Linked DNA regions of Homo sapiens: regions 1 and 2 are each linked to region 3. The links are contacts of gene promoters, found by promoter capture Hi-C in human tissues and cell types (Jung and others, 2019). All regions are on one chromosome and are shown on one strand. The core of a region is centred on a gene start or on the middle of the fragment in contact, and the rest is flanking DNA. Distances in the headings are between cores, read along the strand shown. Region 1 holds the start of ZNF335 (zinc finger protein 335). Region 2 holds the start of PLTP (phospholipid transfer protein). Region 3 overlaps ELMO2 (engulfment and cell motility 2).

Evidence for each region. Contacts are between HindIII fragments. The study calls those that stand out against the background at their distance.
Region 1: the fragment with the promoter of ZNF335 here is called in contact with a fragment that was not itself captured in region 3 in 1 of the 25 tissues and cell types used here (spleen).
Region 2: a contact is called between the fragment with the promoter of PLTP here and a fragment that was not itself captured in region 3, in 2 of the 25 tissues and cell types used here (dorsolateral prefrontal cortex and spleen).

Annotation. Positions count from the first base shown.
Region 1 is chr20:45,970,080-45,973,579 of GRCh38, forward strand. ZNF335 (zinc finger protein 335) reads right to left here and starts at 2,124. Exons shown (of 28, transcript NM_022095.4): 1 at 2,043-2,124; 2 at 1,131-1,381. The coding sequence starts at 1,331. RefSeq lists a silencer at 1,636-1,755 and an enhancer at 2,526-2,745. The HindIII fragment of the contact is 24,986 bases long and covers 1-3,500 here.
Region 2 is chr20:45,910,905-45,914,720 of GRCh38, forward strand. PLTP (phospholipid transfer protein) reads right to left here and starts at 1,251. Exons shown (of 16, transcript NM_006227.4): 1 at 1,175-1,251; 2 at 449-559; 3 at 248-347. The coding sequence starts at 548. The HindIII fragment of the contact is 16,312 bases long and covers 1-3,816 here.
Region 3 is chr20:46,392,293-46,396,054 of GRCh38, forward strand. ELMO2 (engulfment and cell motility 2) reads right to left here. Exons shown (of 22, transcript NM_133171.5): 3 at 2,113-2,240; 4 at 1,757-1,797; 5 at 1,237-1,309; 6 at 801-851. The coding sequence starts at 2,190. LOC124904917 (a long non-coding RNA gene) reads left to right here. Exons shown (of 3, transcript XR_007067614.1): 3 at 949-3,762. Among named protein-coding and RNA genes, the nearest start is that of ELMO2, 12 kb to the right of the region's middle. RefSeq lists an enhancer at 1,942-2,441. The HindIII fragment of the contact is 3,871 bases long and covers 1-3,730 here.

The sequences.
Region 1 (3,500 bases), core at 874-3,373, 420 kb before region 3:
ATGCTGGCTTTGAGGCCAAGTCAGGACTTCTTCATCCTCAGTGCTGCAGCTGCCTGTGTCCCCAGCACCACACCACTGTGGGGTTCATTGTGCCTTTTAACAGCCTCCATGCCAGACTGTGCCCTCCACAAGGGCCTGGACCAAACTTGTCTTTTCCTCTGCTGTATTTCCAGGGCCCAGCACACGCTGAGCACATGGTAGGCCCCCATCTCTGCTGAACTAATGAAACCCCAGGACCCCAAAGTGATGACCACTGCTGTGTACTTCTATCACGTGATATACTGAATATGACCATTATCTTGCATATAAGAATGGCTAATACTTACTGAGTGCTTACAATGTGCTGAGCACTGTTTTAATTATTAGCTTTGCATATGTTAATTCATTTCATCCTCACAAAAACTCTATGAGGCAGGTATATTTACCATTCCCACTTTACAGACGAGGAAACAGAGCTAGATGTTGGGTAGCTTGCTCAAGATCACACGGCTAGGAAGTGGCACAGCCAGGAGGAGATGGTTTACAAAATGTTTGCAAGAGGATGTCTGGTGGGAGCTCACAATCAAGCACCCTTGAAAGCAAGTATTTCTGCTTTACTTTAGCCGGGATACTGAGGCTCAAAGAGGTCTCCCAGTAAACTGGAGGCAGGACCCAGTCTTAACCCAGGGCACTTGCGTTTTTTTTTTTTTTTTTGTAGAGATGAGGTCTCGCTATTTGCCCAAGCTGGTCTCCAACTCCTGGGCTCAAGTGATCCTCCCACCTCAGCCTTCCAAAGTGCTGGGATTACAGGCGATGAGCTACCACTCCTGGCCTAGACATCTGCCTCTCAAAGTGTGAGGACTGTGGGTAGTATAGTAGCTAAGACCACAGCCTAGATTTGAATCCTGGCTCTGTCTGCACTCTGTACCTCGGCATCCTTTTCTATAAGATGTGGGAAAAAATGGTATGTGTCTTAGAAGGTATGAAGCTCAAATGAGAAAATCCATTTTAGGGGTTTGGCTTGGTGCCTGGCTCACAGTAAACCAGAAACACCAAGTATTAGCTACAAACAAGCCTTGTTTCCTCTTGGCTGTCAGGCACTGCTGCTCGCGGTCCTTGCCTCCACCCACGCCGTCCAGCCGGGTCCATACCTGAGAACGGCTGCCGCGGTCCGAGCTTTGCCCCACGCCAGAGTCATCGGCCTCTGCCTGCCCCGGGGCGGCCGCGGCGTCGCTGCTGTCGGCGGACACGGCTTCTGAGGTGCCCACACCCAGGCCGCTCTCAGAGGGCTCCTCGGGCCGGCCAGGCCCAGGGGCCGCGTCGCTGCTGCTCTCCACCTCGTTCTCCTCCATCTGATCGGCGGGCTGCCTGACAGCGGGGCGTAGGGTCTGGGAACTTCACTCTGAGAAGAGAGGTGACCGTGGCTGGAACAAGTGGGCCATCTCCCCAGCCCCGGCAACCACGGCCACCCATTTGCACCCCTGCGCCCATTTTGCAGATGCGAAGATTGAGTCTCCGACGGGGCGGAGCTTCCTGGTGTATTGCGAGGGGAGCTCGGGAAAAACTTGACGGAGAAGCTGTGCTTCCCAGGCTAAGGCCCTTCCCGGGAGGGTGGTCAATGGCTGGTAATCTTGACCCTTTCCCTCGCCCCCACGATTCTCGTGGAGCGTTCCGCTCTGTGAGCCCCATCCGGGCCCAGTGGTTCAGCCCTTCGGCCCCCGCGTCCCCCCGGGTTGCAGGGCCGGTGGTACAGCCCGCTGGCCCCCTGGGTCAGTGGTTCGCTCCCCCCCGGTTCCCCTGCGGAGGCGGCTGACAGCGACGGTCTCGGGGCCTGGCGATTTGGGGCTGTCCCCGGCGCTGCCTGTGCTCCAGGCCCGACGCCATCTTGTGGTGGCGCCGGGTTTCCGCTCAGGCAAGTGCGAGAGCGACTAAAGGGCCTGGGACCCCGGGGCCCTGTTCGGACAGCCCCGCCGGCCTGGGACCTCGCCTCCGGGTATCCCCGCAGTGTGACCTCACTCCACGGCAGGGTACGGTGGGGCCGCCTAACTCTACCCGAAGCTCACCCGAGGCTTTCGTAGCCACGTTCCTCTCTGACTCCGGCATCGACGAGGTCGCCATCCTCTTTCCTCCGCTGCGGAGGAACCCATCGGCCTATTGTAGGCCGGAACTACTTCCCCCGCTGGCCCCGGGAAAGACACATTTTCAGTGTTCCGGAAGGTCGCTCCGAGGCCTCAAAACCATAATCGGGTCTCAACAGACTCTGGGACTTTATACGTCGCCCGGTGTTTGGCACTGAGCCCACTATGGTTTGGGGACTACTTTATCTCGGCGGAGTGTTACGTAGGAAGTGGTTGTGACGTCATTCTGGTCCCTTCCCTAGGCCGCAGGGTTGGGCGCGGCGAATGCGCGCCCCGCTCTCTTGGGGCGTGGCTCCCAGTGGGGGGCGTGGCTCCCGGTGGCTTGGCCGCGCCCCTCCTACAACAGCCCGGAAGAGCGTGTGGCCGCGGGCGACTTTGGCTTGGCCAAAGAGGAATTCATGTTGTCAGTCATTTTACCTGACTCATTACTTATTACTTAGCGCGCTGCTGCAACCCAATCGAGCTCTGCCCGTTAGGTTTGATGTGTTTTGTTGGGAAGGGAATGTATAATTATTGTACAGATAGGGAAACTGAGGTCTGGGTATGGGAAGGGCTGGTCCAAAATCACATCCAATAAAGGGACTCAGGAGCTAAGTACGGATGGCAGGAGTCGGGGAAATGGAAAGAAGTTAATGCTTGTCCCTTAGGTTTGTATACATATTTGTTAACATTAATAGAGCTGAGGCCGGGCGCTGTGAGTCACGCCTGTAATTCCAACACTTTGGGACGCCAAGGCAGGAGAATCGCTTGATCCCAGGAGTTCCAAACCAGCCTGGGCAAAAGAGCGAGACCCCATCTCTACAAAAAAAAGAAAAAAAAGAAAAATTAGCCAGGCATGGTGGCGCGTGCCTATAATCCCAGTTGCTCGGGAGGCTGAGGTGGGAGGATCGCTTGAGTCTGGGAGGTTGAGGCTGCAGCGAACCGTGATCACACCACTGCACTTCAGCCTGGGCGACAGAGCGAGACCCTCTTTCAAAAAATAAATAAATACAAGTCAACTACCTATCCTTTAAAAGTGGAGAAAGAAAAAAAATTTTAATTAAAAGTCAGCTGCCCTTAAGGTATGTCCTTCCTCCGGAAATGTCACCTTCTGTTTTAAGACTTTTAGCAGTTTGCAGTGGAAGAGCACAAGAGGGAGTAAGGCGCTCTGGTTTTTGTCCCTAAGTCTCTGTAGTTCCATAGGCTATTTTCCTTAATTGAAAGATACAAATTTTGGGGGAAAAAAATCTCAAAAAAACTCCTAAGCAGGCTGGGCGCGGTGGCTCACGCCTGTAATCTCAGCACTTTGGGAAGCTGAGTCGGGCGGATCACCTGAGGTTGGGAGTTTGAGACCAGCCTGATCAACATGGAGAAACCCCATCTGTACGAAAAATACAAAAGCAG
Region 2 (3,816 bases), core at 1-2,500, 480 kb before region 3:
CTGGTCCTGCTTCCTTCTTGGCCCCCTCTACATTTTCAAGGCCACGCCCATCTGCCTGGTCCCGCCTATGATGACTGGCTTGGCCTTTATCTTTTCGGCCCCATCCGGTTTCTTAAGTCTTGCCTCATCGATTTGGCCACGCCCCATCCCACTCAGCCTCCAGTCTCCCGAGACCCTGAGATTTCTCGGGCCCCGCCTCCACCGCCGAGGCCCCGCCCCGGATCGCGAGGCCCCGCCCCCCACTTACTCAGAGATGTTGTAGTAGAAGTGGCCTTCTTTGCCCCGCAGGTCCGGAATGGTGATAGTCTCCAGCTCTTGCTCCAGAAAGCGCAGCCCCTCCTGCTTCACTGAAGCAGCAGAGAAACCCTTACTTAGCTCCCGTGCCCACTGTTGGGGCGACCCCAACCCCGTCCGCTCCCGTCCGTCCCTGTCTGCCCCTGCGCCTTACCCAGCTCCAGCGCCTTGGAGGTGACGCGGATCTTGCAGCCTGGGAACTCTGCATGTGCGCCTGCCAGCAGCGCTAGGAAGAGGGCCCCGAAGAGGGCCATGGCGAGCGGGCCTGGGGGTGGGGTGGGGTCGCAGGAGTTATCTGAGCCGCTTAAACCCATTCCTTGGACGTCCAACCATAAGTGGGAACTAGCCTGGATCGTTACCCTCCAGATAACTCTTCGGGGAACTTGGAACCAATAATCTTGCCTCCATATGGCAGATGTGGAAACTGAGGCTCAGAGAGGCGATGCGACTTGCGTTCTGGCTCCCAGAGGATTTGGGACACGGGGGAGGGGACGTTCCCAGTTCCCTCGTGCTACCGCCGCGTGATGAGTTTGGACCTCCAGGGGACCAGCCCCCACACCCCCAACAACCTCCCCTTTCCTTTAGCGGTGGGCCCATGCAGGCTTGCACGTTGCCACGGCAACGACTGCACGCGCATTCTTGGAGGGTGGCTTGCGGTCTCCTAGGCCTCGCGCCCGGGGAGGAGAGGAGGTGGCCGACCAGACCGTGGGCTCCCGGGTCTCCCGGCTCCCTCAGGTCCTAAATCTCTCCCATTAGAGATTCTGCCTGGAGCCCCCATGTTAGCGTTCTCCTTCATCGGCTCTCCTCCCCACGCCGGCTTCAGTGCACCACGCGGCTCGGCGAGGGACTGGGAACGGGATAGGGACGCGCCCCAACTCACTCAGCGGTGGAGCTGGGGGGCGGCGCGGTCACGTGGGATGGCGGGCAGCTCAGGGGATCCGGGCGACGGGGTCTGGCGGGCAGGGTTGTTCCAGCCGCCTTTATAAAGCCGGCCTCCCCGACCCCTCCTCCTCTCTGCAGCTCTCCCCTCCTCCCTTGGGGGCTGGGAGGGGACGGGGCGGGACGCTGGCAGCCGGGAGAGTGGAAAAGGCTGCACAGAGCCCCGTGACAAGCCCGGCCGCTGTCTGGACAAGTGGGAGACCCAAGCCCAGGGAGAGGGAAGGAAATGCAGGAGCCGGCCCACTCAGCCCCAACAATCCCACTTTGCTGGGACCTTGGTTCAAATTACAATTATCCATGTCTTCCTGCATGATCTTGGGCAAGTCACTTCACTTGGGTCACTGACCCTCAGTTTCTTCCTTCAGCGAAATGTGCACGATGATAGGAACTACCTCTTGGGCCTTTATTACAACCAGGTCCAGGCACAAAGTCAAGGAATATTTTTTCTTTCCCTGCCACCCACAATCATCTCGGGACCTCCTTGCCTGGCTTTGCTATGGGCCCCCCTACCTGTCTCTGTGTCACCACCTGGGGACCTTAAGGTCCCAGAGACCTTTCCCACTTGGGAAAGCAAGACTAGACAAGTGCTGTCAGCCCAGGAACATACCACACCGGCTGAAATCAGAAGGAGGTCTGCCATTTATCGTGGCTGGTGGATTGTTTTTTCTATTTTTTTTATTTTTATTTTTTGAGACGGAGTCTCGCTCTGTCCCCCAGGCTGGAGTGCAGTGGCGCGATCTCGGCTCCCTGCAAGCCCCGCCTCCCGGGTTCACGCCATTCTCCTGCCTCAGCCTCCCCAGCAGCTGGGGCTACAGGCGCACGCTGCCACGCCCGGCTAATTTTTTTTGTATTTTTAGTAGAGACGGGGTTTCACCGTGTTAGCCAGGATGGTCTCGATCTCCTGACCTTGTGATCCGCCCGCCTCGGCCTCCCAAAGTGCTGGGATTAAAGGCATGAGCCACCGCGCCCGGTCCACTGGTGGATTTTTTAATGAACCCTTGGAGCAAGGTGCTCTGAACAGCATCCCCGCCCCCACCCCCACCCCCACCTCCATCTACTGCTTACAGGGTTCCCGGACCCTAGGACAGGGCACAGAGTGGGTGCTTGCCACCTTTTTGTTGCCAAATGGACGAAAGAAAGGGGAAGCAATAATCATGTCTGCTGAGCATGTATTTAGCACCAAACACTCATCTAGGAAGGATGACTAACTCATCCTGATTTGCCTAGGACTTTCCCCATTGTGTCTTTTTTTTCTGATATAATCCACAGATTCACAAAAATAGTTCCATTTCCTTTTTTATTTAATTAATTAATTAATTTTTTTGAGACACAGTCGTGCTCTGTCACCAGGCTGCAGTGCGGTGGTGTGATCTTGGCTCACTGCAACCTCTGCCTCCTGGGTTCAAGTGATTCTCCTGCCTCAGCCTCCCAAGTAGCTGGGACTACAGCCATGTGCCACCACACCTGGCTAATTTTTGTATTTTTAGTGGAGACAGGGTTTTGCCATTTTGGCCAGGCTGGTCTTGAACTCCTGCCCTCAAGTGATCCGCCTGCCTTAGCCTCCCAAAGTGCTGGGATTACAGGTGTGACCCACCATGCCCAGCCTATTTATTTATTTTTATTTATTTATTTAAGATGGAGTTTCTCTCTTGTTGCCCAGGCTGGAGTGCAATGGCGCAATCTCGGCTCACTGCAACCTCCGCCTACCAGGTTCAAGCAATTCTCCTACCTCAGCCTCCCAAGTAGCTGGGATTACAGGCACCCACCACTACGCTCAGCTAATTTTTTGTATTTTTAGTAGAGATATGGTTTCGCTATGTTGGCCAGGCTGGTTTCGAACGCCTGACCTCAGGCAATCCACCTGCCTTGGCCTCCCAAAGTGCTGGGATTACAGGCGTGAGCCACCGCGCCCGGCCGCCTATTTATATTTTTAGAGACAGGGTCTTGCTCTGTTGCCCAGGCTGGAGTGCAGTGGTACAATCACGGCTCACTGAAGCCTCCACCTCTTGGGCTCAAGCGATCTTCCCACCTCAGCCTCCTGAGTAGCTAGGACTACAGGCAGGTGGTACCATGTCATGTCCAGCTAAGTTTTGTATTTTTTGTAGAGACAGGTCTCACCATGTTGCCCAGGCTGATCTTGAACTCCTGGACCCAAGTGATCCTCTTGCCTTGGGCTCCCAAAGTGCTGGGATTACAGGCGTGAGCCACACATCCAGCCATCCCCATTTTGAAACCATTCCTGGGAACCCACTCAGTCCCTGGGAAACCTTACAACTGGTCATCCGAATTCTAGGTAATTTATTTAACCTTAACAACCTGTCAGACTGGCACTATTATGAACCCTCTTTAACAGGAAGTAGAGGTTGAAGCAATTCTGTGGCTGCTATTAGGGAATCCGTAGACTGTTCATGGAAGAGTGGAAGGTGGGCTTTATAGCCCGGTAGTTATGTACTTAGACTCTTGTGTCTGACAGACAAGAGTTTACACCCCAGGTTGTCAGTTCTTAGGTGTATGACATTGATCCCTTGCTTAAGCACTCAGATCTTCAATTTCCTCATCCTAAAATGGAAACAATAATTTAAG
Region 3 (3,762 bases), core at 545-3,044:
CCATTCTCCCCTTTCCTTCCACATCTAGCATATCACCATACTCATAAAGCTTACCTCCTAGATACTCTTCATATCCATCCTTTCATCTCCATTACCACTTGCCTTCACTGGGCTGTTAACATTCCTTATTAGCCTCTTCAAAGGTTCCTACTACCACCAACCTTCTTCTTAAGGCCCATCTTCCACATGGTCACTAAAGTGATCTTTCTAAAACTTAAAATCTAAACATAACATATCTTCCTGCTTAAAATTCTTCAATGTCCCCAGTTTCCTTCTGGACAGAGTTGAAACCTACGAGTAGGCCATCAAGGAACCTTGAATATCTGGCTTCTCAATGACTGCTACAAGCCTCCAGCCACCCAGCACTCCTGCTTTTCCCAAACACAGCATACCTCTGTGCCTTGGCATATGCTGATTTCTCTGACTGGAATACTTTTCCTTTTCTTATTTCTCTAGCTAATTCTTGCTCATCCTTTAACATCTGAGCTAAGTGACGCCTTCTCTGGCAAGACTTTCTGGAAATCTCCAGGCTGAGTTAGGTGGTCCCCTTTGTGAGTTCCCACAGCTCCCTAAGCAACTTTCTCTCAAGACCCTTGAGACAGGCCTTCTATTGCATTTGTTTACTCCCCACTAGGTGGTGAGAACCAAGACAGACTTATTTTCCTGTACTATTTCCTGATACAAAAAGACTGACTTTCTTATCTCCAGAGTACTTATTTCTAGAACAGAGTCTGGCCCATGGTAGGTGCTCATATTTGTTTGTGACATGAATAAACTCCTAAGGAAGAAAGAATACCTACCGGGGAGATAGCCAGTTGTAAGATTGTCCCATTCTTAATGTCACTGCGAGTCTGGGTAGTGAAAAATAAACAAAAAAAGTAACTAAGATAAAATGTTAAAGTGGTACAAGCAAGTTGAATCAACAATAATGTTTTGTCTTTTTTACAGTAGATGTAACTGAGGATCTTCAGTCGGGCCCTCTTCTCCTGCTTATTCCTTGGCAAAGAATTTCTAAGATCCTCCTCTAGCACCCTGGGCACTCAGGAAGTAAAAGCCACCTTTTTCTAGCCACTAGGGAAGAACAAGGGCTGGTGTTTCCCAGTCTGTCCGGAGAGTGACTCTTTACCCAACACATGGAAGCTACCTGGATGCTGAGTGAAGATAAATAGTGCCGTCTCCTTGGGTCGTTTAATTCCAAGCAAGGCCCATATTGATTTTGCCTCTCCCTGTACTAACCTGTTCGGTGATGTACAGCTGAGGACCATCTGCATAACGGAGGGTATAATACTCTGGGTTTGGCAACGACCACCTATGCAAGAGAAAAACAGTATATCCCACTTGGCCACTCTCTTGTTCAGAAGCTGCTCATAAGTAATTTTCAAAAGAGTTGCTCAAGGGATTGGGTGGCCTATTTGGAATACAGTGGAAACAAAGCTTTAGGTTGTCATGTTGAAAAAATCATGGCCTCAGCCTTTTGTAAAGATGAGCACCACAATAGGAGGTGTGCAGAACTGAGGAGGGGTCTCAGATCCTACCTCAATAGGGCAATGCTAGACTTTAAGGAAAAAATTAAGAAGTATAAACGTCTTAGGGGTATGGTTGTCAACTGTACTTCCTTCCCAAGACAATGATTCCCAAGACCCCCATGCTGAGGACCTGCCTAACTGGAGATCCTTCCCAGAACTCCCCTCAAGGTGTAGGAGTGCTCTTTCAGTCGGAGCTGCCACTGTTGAAAACGAGGTCCATTTCAACCTACCCATCACAAACTTCCTTGATAATGGATGCCAGGGGCCGTTTCTGAAAGAGAGAGAGAGAAAGCCTTCAACAGCAGCAACATCCTACTCATGCCAAGGTTCTGACAAGAGGCCTGCCAAGCAGGGTCAAGCTGGGGCATGAGAATGAACTTCTTTCCTAACAGCTTTTGTTGAAGAGGAAGCCTCTCCCAAGCCATGGTGACCGACCTTCCCTAGGGTGGGCCAGGCCCAAAGCTTAGCCTTCCTGTTGCTCGTTCTTACTCTTGATGCCGGTGGTCCCCATCCCTCAAGATGTCCTCTGCCATGCACTCCCCAGGTGCCTTTCCTTGAACCACTGCTTCTCACTTCAGGAGCATACCTGGTCGATTTCAAGGAGCTGGGCGTTAGCACCTGGCCACTCAATGGCCACTTTGACAATGTCTGACGGTGGTGGCATCGTTCCCAATGGGCTCTAATTCTGCGAGACAAAAACACAGACACGGCTGCCTGGGGAGAAAGAATCAGAAAGGTGGAAAAAGAGTATTTCTTCATTTTTCACTCTTGTTACATGTTTTGAAGAGTTTGAAGACAGACACTGCATAAAGTAACACATGAAACTACCTGGTTTGAATTTTTCTAGATCATACCACAACTTCTGCTTAGGATTTTGTCTCTTGAGATTAAATCAGCAAGAAGAAATGGGACAAACTATCTATCATCCATAGATCAGCCAGTAGCAAGATATGCCAATGTGGCACTTCAGTTTAAGAGTCAAGAAGACTCAGTGGTAGAGGAATGTATTTACTGCAAATTCCTGTCTTGAGACCTTGGGAGGAGAGAAGCATATGCTCCGAGACAGATAAGAATAGACAGCCTTTTCTTGGTTGAGTGGTTAGCTGGAGGAGCCAGGCTACTTCTTTCTGCAGTCATCCTAGGAAGATCCCAGCATCAGCAGGGCCCAGCTACATGCTCTCTTGCTTCCTCCCCACTCATCGATGCCACCCCTTTCCCCTCAAAGGACACAATGCAAAGCCTCCTCTGTGTGGGACGACATCAGAAAATGGGGAAGATAACTGGGACAGGAAATGCTATTTTCGTCCCTACTGCCAAGGGCAAGGGCGGCTGACAACTCAAGTGGAGAGAGGTAAGGATATCCTCACACAAGGGCCCCTCTTATAAGGACAAGGCTTTGCAAGTACCTCTGACCCCCTCCCCCACTTCTCTCCAAAATAAAGGAAAATAAATCATCCTGAGCAAGTCTGGAAGATGGGCCCATGTGACTGGTATCCTAGGCAACTCTGATAGCTTACTGGTATTCCAAGCAGTAACTAAAGCATTCTCTCTCCAAGGTCTGACGAAGGGAAGTCACTTGGCTGATGGATTATTTCAATGTATATTTACACTCCTTGCCTACAAGTTCAGGAGAGGCCCCTCTCTTAATGAAAAAGACCTTTCTGCATCCTCCAGGTTTAGCCATTCACCCACAATTCATGCCTCGCTAATGGGGACCACCTGCCTCTCCTGGCGTACAAAGCATAGCTGTCGCGAGGCTATTATGCATGTATGCTATCAATTTTTCAGCCCAAACACAGATGTCAGTTCTCACAGCCTGGTAAGTATAAACCTCTTAGATGAAAAGGAGTAAAAGTCCTGTCCCCCACAAGCCCATCGGCCTCAGAAAGAGGGATGCTTTCATGACCATTTCCTAGTCAGAATGGGATGCTTCAGAAGTCTACTGTCATAAAAAGCCAGCATTTCCAGAACATGACAATGTAAAGGAACTAGTTTTCCAAGTGCTTTCACTTATTTTATTGTGTCCTCCCAGCAGCCCCACGAATTAGGCAGAACAGGATTATCACCTCCATTTGAAGATGGCACAACTAAAGCTCAGTGTTTTGTTAAGTGCCCAAGGTCACCCAGCTAGTAAGTCATAACGGTTGACAGAACTTGGACTGGCTTCGGCCAATGCTTTCCCCTTTTCCTTTGAGCCAGCCTCAACTTCTGTCCACTGCAATTAAACGCAGCCTAA